3 separate regions of the Homo sapiens genome follow, and regions 1 and 2 are each linked to region 3. Evidence: promoter capture Hi-C in 16 types of primary human blood cells and fetal thymus (Javierre and others, 2016). All regions are on one chromosome and are shown on one strand. Each heading gives the region's core, a stretch centred on a gene start or on the middle of the fragment in contact. The rest is flanking DNA. Distances are from core to core; before and after follow the strand shown.

Region 1 (3,908 bases), core at 408-2,907, 780 kb before region 3:
GGCTAAATGCCCCTAAAAATTATTTTCAATTAAAAACAATGCCCTTTTAATCATGGGAATTATACCATAAGACAATGTGTGTCATTACATAATTAATATGTAAATCTTACTAAGCACTTACTACATGCCAGGGTCTGTTTTAAGCACTTTATAGTGTTAACTTATTTAATCTTCATAACAGCACTATAAGCCAAGCTATTATTACCCTCATTTTACAGATGGGGATAGTACAACAGAAAGTTTAAGTACCTGGCCCAATATTACACAACTGGAAATGCCAAAGCTAGGATTCACAGCATGGCAGTCTGGCCCCAAAACTGATTATCCATTCATACCCTCACATGCAACCAGGAAGTCGGGGAAAGTGAATGATGGAAACTGAATCATCTATTTTATTACAGTGAATAGCCTTTGAGTTCTGAAAGTTACAAACTAAGTCCAGTTAAAGTACATAGAGCACTTACCTGACTTACAAGAAGTTAAGACTTACAAGAATTTAAATGTACATATTTCAAGACCATATCTTCACATAAATAAGTCAAGAACCTTTCTAGATTAGCATTGCCCAATCAGTAACACCAAGCAATTCTTTGATTCTCAAAATTGTGTGTTTAGATCTGGTTCCCACCGAATGTAACAAAGCCCCAAACACCTCTGGACTTCAAGTTGAAGCCCAGAGCCAGTGTGCTTCTGGCCACCTAGTCCCGAGACTAACATGCCCCTGGCCCCGGCCCGACACACCCCCGGGCCACCTAGTCCCTGGCCTAACATGCCACCAGCAATCTAGTCCGCAGTCTAACATACTCCTGCCCCGTCCTGACAGGCCCCCGGCCACCCAGTCCCCTGCCTAACACGCCCCCAGCCACCTAGTGCCTGGCCCAACATGACCCCGGCCACCCAGTCCCCGGCCTAACACGCCCCCGGCCATCTAGTTCCCGGTCACCCAGTCCCCGGCCTAACACGCCCCCGACCACCCAGTCCCCGGCATAACATGCCCCTGGCCCCTTCCCTACCTCGTCCCACGGCTTCTGGCACCGCAAGGGATGCCGCAGGCCACCACCGGACCCTGAGGCGCAGGACATCCCCCTGGGAGGAATCAGATCCCTGTGGCTGGCGGGAAGGTGGCAGCAGGAAGGGAGGGGTCACGGCGGAGGGCGGAGGGCGGGTCGCAGGAGGAAAGGAAGGAGCGGACTGGGGGCGAAGGTTGGCTAGGAGAACAGGTGGGTACCAAGATGCTGAAAGCGCGGCCGCCGCCGGAGGAGAAGGAGAAGCAGGAGTGGAAATCGGAGCGCTCCAAAAGCGGGCAGTCATTGTCACAGCCCCGGCGGGGCTGGGGGTGGCCTCTCGCAGCCCACGGGCCTCCACGGAGCCTCCGCGCGGCCGCGCTCCCTCGGCCCTTGTCCCGACCCAGCAGCGGCCCCCGGAGGCCCGAGCCCTCGCTTCAGCGCCCGCCCGGCCGCCGCCCTGGAGAGCCGCGCTTACCTCGGCCACGGCTGCCTCCCGCTCGGCCCCGAGCTTGGTCACCGGCTCATGCCGCGGGGCGCGGGCCACCTCCGCCCAGGTCGGATCGGTCCGAATCGCCAGCCGCCACTGCCAGGGCCGAGTCTGGGCTGGCGAGCAGCGAGCGAGGGGCCGGTAACCGGGATCCGGGCCGTCTGACACCGAGCGCACTGCGCATGCGGGAGCTGCCGGGCCGCGCCTCCTGCTGGACAGGAGGAGTCCGAGCACCGCTGCAGTGTTTTCCCAGGCAGGCGCGCTCAGGCTCCGCAGTGAAATGCTCAGACAGCCTCATTCATAATTAAAGAATCCTTAAACCCAAACGAGACACCACGCGTTGCTTATAAAACTAACAAATATGTAGACGTTTTATTATAATCAGTTCTGGTGAGCGTATAACATTCCTGGAGGGCAATTTGGTACTATCCATCAAACGGAAAATGCTGGTACCCTTCATTCCAACAAGCTCTCTGTACGGAGTTTGCCCTATGGATATTCTCAACAATGTTTGTCAAAAAGTTCCATGACAGCATTCTTTCTAATCATAGCGAAATGCTAGACACAATCGAAATAAATTATGGAATTTGATTGATTTGAGTAATGTGAGATAGTGCAATATATTTGGGTAAGGAAATATCTCCAAGATATTAGTTAAGATCAAAGCGTAGTCCAAAACAGCGGGCAAGTCACTTTTAGGTAAACTATGCATATGCAAAAACAAGAGGGAGAAATATATAAAGTAGGTGCTTATATTCAGGCATGTGTATAACTTTTTTCTGGAAGGAATGCAAGAAGAAATGAACAGCTTCAGGTGGAGTAGTTGTCGAGGCGGAAATGGAAGCATTTATGGCGAGGAAAGGTGGCTCACGCCTGTAATTCCAGCATTTGGGGAGGCCTAAACGAGAGGATCGCTTGAGCCCAAGAGTTTGAGACCAGCCTGGGCAGCAGAGCAAGACCCCATCTCTACAAAAAATAAAAAGTTAACTAGGCATCGTAGCACACGCTTGTAGTCCCAACTACTTAGGAGGCAGAGGCAGGAAGATTGCTTGAGCCCAGGAGGTCAAGGCTGCAGTGGGCCGTGGTCGTGCCACTGCACTCCAGCCTGGGTGATAGAGCAAGACCCTGTCTCCAAAAAAAAAAAAAAAAAACGCATTTTTGTTTTGTATCTTTCTCTATTATTTACATGATTTAGCCCTATCCATGCACACTAAAACCGCTGTCATAAAGCAGTAAGTGGAAACTAAAAAATTAAATTAAAATTCAGAGCGATGTTATTGAGAGGTTAATGAAATGACCCCTGGGCCTGCGATGTTGGTTTGGTAGAGTTGTGGGTCTGGCTACAGGATCCAAATCCCTTCTGGTCCCAGATGTACTTTGGCGCCATCTGGTGGAAGTTGTCACTGATAGCTTAAATATTCAAAGTGATGATTCTGAGACTAGATACCTACAGAGGCTTCCGGCAGCAACCTCGATTCCAGGGATATTTTTGTGAGTTAATGCCTGCTTGTCACAGATCTAGGGAGATTGGGATGAGGACATTCTGGGGATGGGACACTCATGTTCTGCTTCCCCACATCCAAGGGGGCATTGCTCTGCTTTCCAAATCAAATCCCCCCTGCAAATGATACAAAATGTAGCACACACCCACCCCATTTGAGAACTGGATGGGTGGAGAGCAGTGACAATCACCACTGGAACTGTATCCAAATTTATCTTATCCCAGGGAATATTGTTTTCACTTTTTGAAATAAGTCAACAATAGCTATCTGGTCTGGAAGATTGTGGCCTCTTTTTTTCTTCTCCATATTTATCTGTATTTTAAACATGTATGTTTTTAATTAATCCTTTGTTCTTTTATAAAATGAGAATTTGCCGTGTTAAAGAACTGTGTGAGGCACAGCCTCACACAATGCTGCCTATCTTCTTCATTTTTTATAACCTTAAACTTGCCTAATGCCTGGCATATAGTTAATTGCTCAATAAATAGTTGTTGAATGGAGAAAGGATGCCTAGACACTGGGAGGAGCTAACTAGAAATAAGACAATAAGATTATTCAAAGGAGAAGGTAAAAAGTGGCATAGAAGCATATAAACAAAATGCTACAGAATTCAAAAAAAAAAAAGAGGTGACATCCAGTTGGAAAAATCTAGGAAGAGTTCAATCAACAGTTGATATCTTTGTTTATCCTGGAGGACACTTAGTATTTTGACAAGCAGAGAGGTGAAAAGGGCATTCAAGGCAGAGAAAGAAAGTCATGAGCATGTGTTAAAGAAGGAAAAGCAGCTGGGCAGAATGGCTCACATCTGTAACCCCAGCACTTTGGGAGGCCGAGGCAGGAGGATCACTTGAGACCACAAGTTCAATACCAGCCTAGGCAAAAAAGTGAGACCCCCATCTCTGCAAAAAAAAA
Region 2 (3,489 bases), core at 421-2,920, 540 kb before region 3:
TTTGAGCCAACTTTGATTAGGTAACTTTTGATTTCTGAGAATTTGTTTATTGGGATTATCACTATATATTTATCCCTCACTTAGAAAAAAAAATTTTTTGTCACATCTTTTAAGGACCATTTTGCCACAAGGATATAGTCTATGAGAGCACACACTAGGGTGAGATCTCCGACTCAGACTGAGTAGGAAATGCAGAGTTCAGTGAGGCTCTCACAATGGGTCAGTAAAGAAAAGGTTATTTCCCAGAGTAAAGTTGAGCAGTAAGGAAAGAAAGAGTATATGTAAATACTCTGATCTCACATAATGAAGGAACATAAGCAAACCATTTCTCATTTCTATGCATTAGGTTTAAAGGTCACAAAATAGTGAAGATTAAAAAAAAAAACCCAAATATAGATCACAAGCCTGGTAAAGGTATTGTAAGATTTTGAGCTTCTAGAGGTAGAGATGGTCTAATCATTATACCTCTCAACTGCGTTATAATTTTTTGTTCCTTTCGTCCATCCTTTTTGCCATCTTCTTCCCTCCCTTCGTATGTAACATGGTATAAATTGGACTACTTTGATCTTGTAGGAGAATTAAGTTGCACTGCCTGACTGAACCACTTGGTGGTGCCACAAGTTAACTCTTCATGCAGCTAAACCATAGAGCTAGTCTAGAGAACCCCCAGATCAAGGGGTGGGGACAAGAGATGCATACTCAGGAATTCCAAGTTGGGTTATGTTTTTCCAGCTAAGAAATGTAAATTCTTTTCTAGAAAGTATATTTATTTCCACGATGGTTTAAAATCAAGGCAGTTAACATGGCCTAGTGGAGGGTTCAAAGACGAAACAGCGTTTGAGCTAAGTCTTAAATGAAGTGCAAGAATTTCCCTAATTGTAAACAAATAAGGGAACAGCAGGAGCCAAGAAAAGGAGCCACAGAAGAGCATGATGTTTTTCAGGGAACTGCATAGCTCAGGATGGTTCAAATGTTGGAAATGTGTGAAGAGTGGCAGGAGGGAGGCAAAACGGTACAGAAAACTGAATCCAATCACTGGGCAGTATCCATTTCTAGAACACAAGCTCCATGAAGGCTTGGTCATATTCATATATTTTAATGTTTTAGAACAGTACTTGGTACATAGCAGGGGTACAATTAATATCTATTGAATGAATTGGTGAAAGACACTTCATTATGGACAGCACCGAAGAAGAGTACTGGGGTCTCTTTCCACTGCTATGATCCAGAAAATTAATTACACCAAGAAGTTGATAATATGAATGTTTAAGCCAAAATTTTAGAAATTCTGAAGCATATATAAGAGCACCTATCTAAACAGGCATACTTATAGCTACTTGCCAATGATTTAAAAATAAATATTCCAAGTTATATGAAAGTAAAGAAATATCTTAGATATCAAAAAGCCATCTAGGTACACCCTTCAACTGTTAAATAAAAACCCAACAAGGGATAATTAGTTGATTTCTCCTGCTTACTCAGGAAAACATTATGGGAAACAGGTCAAGAAGATACTCATACTTTTATAGGAAATTGTGGGCAGAACAGATTTTTCAAGTTGCTCAATTTCAACAAGTTCCCATTACAAATATTGCCAGCTCAGAAACAACCTGACCTTGAGAGCTGCAGATGTGGGCAAGTATCCTGGTCTTCAAATTTAGCATTCCCACATGGCAAATAATTAATTAGGCCATAAAGCAAAGCTGTTGGTGCTTCCTTGCTCAGCCTATTTTAAAACAATAAAAATAAAAAAAATAAAATCACTGGAGACAACTTGGTATCTTGAGATGGAGCCTCGCTCTGTCACCCAGCCTGGAGTGCAGTGGCGCCATCTCGGCTCACTGCAACCTCCACCTCCCTGGTTCAAGCAATTCCCCTGCCTCAGCCTCCTGAGTAGCTGCGATTACAGGCGCCTGCCACCACGCCCGGCTAATTTTGTATTTTTAGTAGAGATGGAGTTTCTCCATGTTGGCCAGGCTGGTCTCGAACTCCCGACCTCAGGTGATCCGCCTGCCTCAGCCTCCCAAGTGCTGGGATTACAGGCATGAACCACCGCACCAGGCCCGACAACTTGGTATCTTTTTTCTCACCCACTGGAGCAGCTTGCTTAGATAACTGGACTGCACAGTACAATTCAGGGGGCTTGATTCAGAAGAGGAAGGCTTATGGCCATGGAGTAGTGGAAAGAAAGATGCCTGAAACTGCATGGCAGATATTCAAGAATCAGGGATTGAACCTTGGAACTTAACATGGTAGGGCATCTTTCAGGTGTCATCATCTGTGTACTAAACATGCTTTTCAACTGAAAAATGACCAGAACATCAGATGACAATGACCTGGGAAAATGAAGACCCAGAATACACTAGGGTCTAGTGTATTTGCACAGTATGAGATTTCATACATGGTGTCACATCTGCCTTTACCGAGCATTAAATTCAACCGTGTAGCCAGCACACACTCTTAAGGCAGAAGCTGGGGCTCCTATGAAGAATATTAGGAAAACTCCATTTCCTGAAATCTGTGTATTCATCTACGATTTCAGGATCTGGTATACAAAAACTTAAATAATTATACACCTATATTATAGTTTTGGAGTGCGTATTACTTTACTTGCAGACCACGAAATTAGCTTTTCCATATAAAGGCCCTTGATTATCTACTTGGCAGAAACCCTTAGACTTTCTAGAAATTTTAGGAAAAAGGAGTTGTTCTGCTGGTGCAGAGATCCCTGGTTATATAGCAATGAAAAAAGGCCCTGCAATAACAATACATATAAATCTTAGCATCTAAATCCAAAATGAAGGAGTTCAAAGTATTGTGCTCTACACAAAGATCCTTGATAAATGTTGGCTGATAATCTTGTAAATAACCTACCTCCAAAGATGTGGAATTTGTATGTTAACATTCAAGGAACAAAAAGAAAAACAGTGTAATCTCACAAAAGGCATTCACTTAACACTAAACTATTTCCTGAGCACCTACTAGAACAATGTTTTAGGCATGGGAACTTAATGAATAAAATTCATTGTGAATAAAAACAGAGTCCCTAATCTTACAGAGCTTACATTTCAGTAGGAGGATATAGACCACAAACAAATAATAATTAAAACAAAGGTGTACAGTATTGGCAGGCAATGATAAAAAAGCAAGATGAAAAAAATACCTGGGTAAAAGAGCTGATAGAGGCTGAGCCTGCAGGTGAGTTCTCAAGAAAGGCCCCTTTGATGTGGTGACTTATAACCAAAGATCTGAACAAAGAGATGGAGTTGGCCAAAAGAATATCTGGGTGAAGAGCCTTTGAGACTGAAGGAACAAGTGCAAAGGCCCTGAGGTGAAGGCATCCTCAAAGTGTTTCCAGAATTGGAAGGAGGCCACAGAAGTAGGAAGGTGGGGAGGGGACATGATAACGTGGAAGTTTGAAATCAGAACATTGAGGGTCATAAAAACTCATGGTTTCATTGTGAAAGAGATGAGAAGCCAAGGAAGAAT
Region 3 (3,572 bases), core at 1,051-3,550:
ACTGTTGTAGCTTTCACCCTATCCCCCTACTGATATGCAACAAAGTCTAACGTAGGTAGAACAATTTGCTACAAAGTTACCCAACTAAGTCACAGATAAATTATACGATTGAGAATATCTTCACTACTAGTTCTTTTTAGGAACAACAAATTCAAACTGATTGACCACACATAGTTTGTATCTTTTTTTTTTTTTAATTTTTTGTTTGAGATGGAGTCTTGCTCTGTTGCCCAGGCTGGAGTGCAGTGGCCCGATATCAGCTCACAGGAACCTCCACCCTCCGGGTTCAAGCAATTGTCCTGCCTCAGCCTCCCAAATAGCTGGGACTTCAGGCGCATGCCACCACGCCTGGCTAATTTTTGTATTTTTAGTAGAGATGGGGGTTCACCATGTTGGCCAGGCTGGTCTCGAACTCCTGATCTCAACTGATCTGCCCATCCACGCCCCTTAAAGAATTGGGATTACAGGCGTGAGCCACCGTGCCTGGCAGTTTTTACCTTCTTAATGAACAGAATATTCCTCCTTCACAACCGACCTACACACTCTATCCACATGTACAGCAGAACATCCGTATACATTTCTTACTGATAAAAGTGAAATTCCCTACTGACAGGGAATGAAGGAAAAAAAATCATTTGCTATTTCAAACTGGTATATTCTTAATTCTAGATTAAGCTACAATAAATCTCCAACATGAAATTTTTTTTTTTTCGTTCAGCTCAGAAAAGTCCTATTTGAATTATGTTAAGAAAAGGGGACGGGAAAGGTACTCCCACGACTGTTAATAGACTAGAATCTTCCACTTTCTCCAAGAAGGGATGCGTAAGCAGAAAAATCACAAAGTTCTAAGCGCTGAAAAGCTATGGTGTGGGATTTCTAAAACAATGATCAAGGTTACCTCCAGGAGAGCCTGGTTCTTTTCCCAAGAACACACATACCCAACCACTTATCAAGTTCAATGTACTCCAGTACTTGAAAACTCATACAGGGAACAAATGACTTGTATGGATAATTCAACACTGCTGAGAAACTGTGTATCGGGGGCAAGCATCGTTAAGAGAGCTCTTCCAGACAACTCCATTCAGAGCTGCGCACTCACACTCTCCTTCGCCCAGCCCTGTTTTATTTTCTTCAAACATGTTTCATTAAAAAGAATAAATTTTTAAAAAAAACCTTTTTTTTTTTTTTTGAGACGGGGTCTTGCTTTGTCTCCCAGGCTGGAGTGCAGTGAAGCGATCTCGGCTCACCGCAACCTCTGCCTCCCGGGTTCAAGCAATCCTCCCACCTCAGCCTCCTGAGTAGCTAGGATTACAAGCGCGTGTCACCACGCCCGGCTAATTTTTGTATTTTTAGTAGAGACAGGGTTTCACCATGTGGGTCAGGCTGGTCTCGAACTCCTGACCTCGTGATCCGCCCGCCTCGGCCTCCCAAAGTGCTCGGATTACAGGCGTGAGCCACCAAGCCGGGCCTCACAATGCCTATCTTTCTTACTACACTCCCTCCTAACTGTACATTCTGGGAGAGCGCGGACCTTTCCATCTGTATCTCCAGCGCTCGGCACTCAAAAAAATGCACTGAATAAATGAAACCGTGAGCTCTCATCAAAGTCTGGACCAAAGAGTCCCTCTTCTGTTTCTCACAAACTTCTGTCTCCTAAACACTCTTCTTCAATTAGTAGCAGAATTTTGCCTCCCCCCCAAAAAAAACACATCTTGACCTCATGAAGAAAACTCCCGATCTAATCTTGGAAGCACTGAGCTCCACCGAAAAGGAGAAAGGCTTAAGAGAATCCTGTAGAGAAAAGCTCCGTGAGAAGAATTAACGTGAGCCTGAACGGGCTGAGTTAGGTTACGCCACGGTGAGAAAAGGCTGGGCAAGGGAGGCAAGGAAGCCTGGAACCCTGGGGACCGCGGTCTCCCTGGTGAAACCAGAGTCTACACTCCCAGAGAGGCCCACCCCGACGAGACGGCCTGAGGAGGCTAGGAGGCCCCGGGAGGATGAAGCCGCAGCCCCCGCTCGGCCCGGGGAGTGCGGCGGGAAGCGCTTTCGAAAGGCCGCGGAGCGCCAGGCCCTGCAGGCCGCCCGGGGACTCAACTCACCTGGCCCACTTGCTCCGTGGCATCGGCCAGGATGCCATAATTGCGGTAAAGCTCCTCTACTGTCGGCATGGTGAGCGACAAGCCCAGGGCCCGGTTCCGCTATCCTTGTCCTGACCGGCGCCACCGCCGCCTCGGAACTTCTCCAAACCCACTACCCGCACTATTACACCTCCAGCTGCCGCCAGTGCAGCCGCCAGTCACCGCGCACAGCGCGGCTGCGCCCCCGACGTCTACGTAAAGACGCGCACGTCGGGAGCGGCCTTCAGTAGACACCCCCCACCCCAATGCGCCTCCGCGGTTTTTGTCGCCCTCTACAGCCTGGAGGAGCAAAAAAGCGGCAAGGATGATTGAATTAGCTCACGCCTTTTTGAAAGCTTGAGCTTGGCTGCAGGCTCTCCATGGAAGGGGTGTGGGTGGGCGGGGAAGTGAATACAAAGACAATTGCGTTTCTGCCCTTAGAAGATCTTACATATGAGAAGTCACAAATGGTTTCCTCCTGATTCAAGGAAGGTAATATTAATCGGTGGCACTAGAGGCTAGTGGGTCCGGTGGGAAGCAAAAAACATTCCTATGCTATTAAAAAACCCTCTGTGTCCACCACGCTCATCAAGTGCGGGGTCAAATTTGGCCTGCTGGAAGAATTTGCTTATCTTTGCTGCCAGTGTAAAGAATTGGGGCCACCTGATTATGTCCAGTATCCAAAAGAATAATAAATAAATGAAATCACGTACGCTTACTGATAAGAATTTCTAAGATACAAGTTTAAATGAAATTATATATATAATATGATATAATATATAATATTTTATATATTATATAATATATAACATTATATATTAATATATAATAATTTTATATATTATATAATATATAATATTATATATTAATATATAATATTATATATTATATAATATATAACATTATATATTAATATATAAATATATAATATATAATATAAATATAATAATATTATATTAATATATAAATATATAATATATAATATAAATATAATAATATTATATTAATATATATTAAGATAATAATATTAATTAATACATTAATTATATAATATAATTATAATATATCTATATATTGAGATATAATATTAATTAATATATCAATATTATCAATTATATATTATAATTATCTTATATTATATATAATATATTAATTATATAATTAATATATTAATATTATTATCTTAATATATATTAATATATTATTATATTTATATATCATATATAATATTATGATATTAATATTATAATATATATTATATATTATATTATATATACAATTATATATATAATATATATTATATATTGTATATTATTATATAATTATATATTAAGATAATAATATATATTAAGATAATAATATATTATATATATTAAGATAATAATATATATTATATATATTAAGATAATAATATATATTTATATATTAAGATAATTATATTTATATAATAATATT

Evidence for each region. Contacts are between HindIII fragments. The CHiCAGO score rates a contact against its expected background, and 5 or more counts as called.
Region 1: a contact is called between the fragment with the promoter of EXT2 here and the fragment with the promoter of API5 in region 3, in 2 of 17 cell types (total CD4 T cells and total B cells). The highest score is 6.2, in total CD4 T cells.
Region 2: a fragment that was not itself captured here is called in contact with the fragment with the promoter of API5 in region 3 in 1 of 17 cell types (neutrophils); the score reaches 5.3 in neutrophils.

Annotation. Positions count from the first base shown.
Region 1 is chr11:44,093,427-44,097,334 of GRCh38, reverse strand. It overlaps EXT2 (exostosin glycosyltransferase 2), which reads right to left and starts at 1,657. Exons shown (of 14, transcript NM_207122.2): 1 at 1,483-1,657. RefSeq lists an enhancer at 701-750 and a silencer at 1,171-1,790. The HindIII fragment of the contact is 9,066 bases long and covers 1-3,908 here.
Region 2 is chr11:43,849,356-43,852,844 of GRCh38, reverse strand. All of the region lies in intron 9 of HSD17B12 (hydroxysteroid 17-beta dehydrogenase 12), which reads right to left. Among named protein-coding and RNA genes, the nearest start is that of ALKBH3, 30 kb to the left of the region's middle. The HindIII fragment of the contact is 5,632 bases long and covers 1-3,489 here.
Region 3 is chr11:43,310,724-43,314,295 of GRCh38, reverse strand. API5 (apoptosis inhibitor 5) reads right to left here and starts at 2,300. Exons shown (of 14, transcript NM_001142930.2): 1 at 2,100-2,300. The coding sequence starts at 2,168. RefSeq lists an enhancer at 1,772-2,547. The HindIII fragment of the contact is 11,672 bases long and covers 1-2,475 here.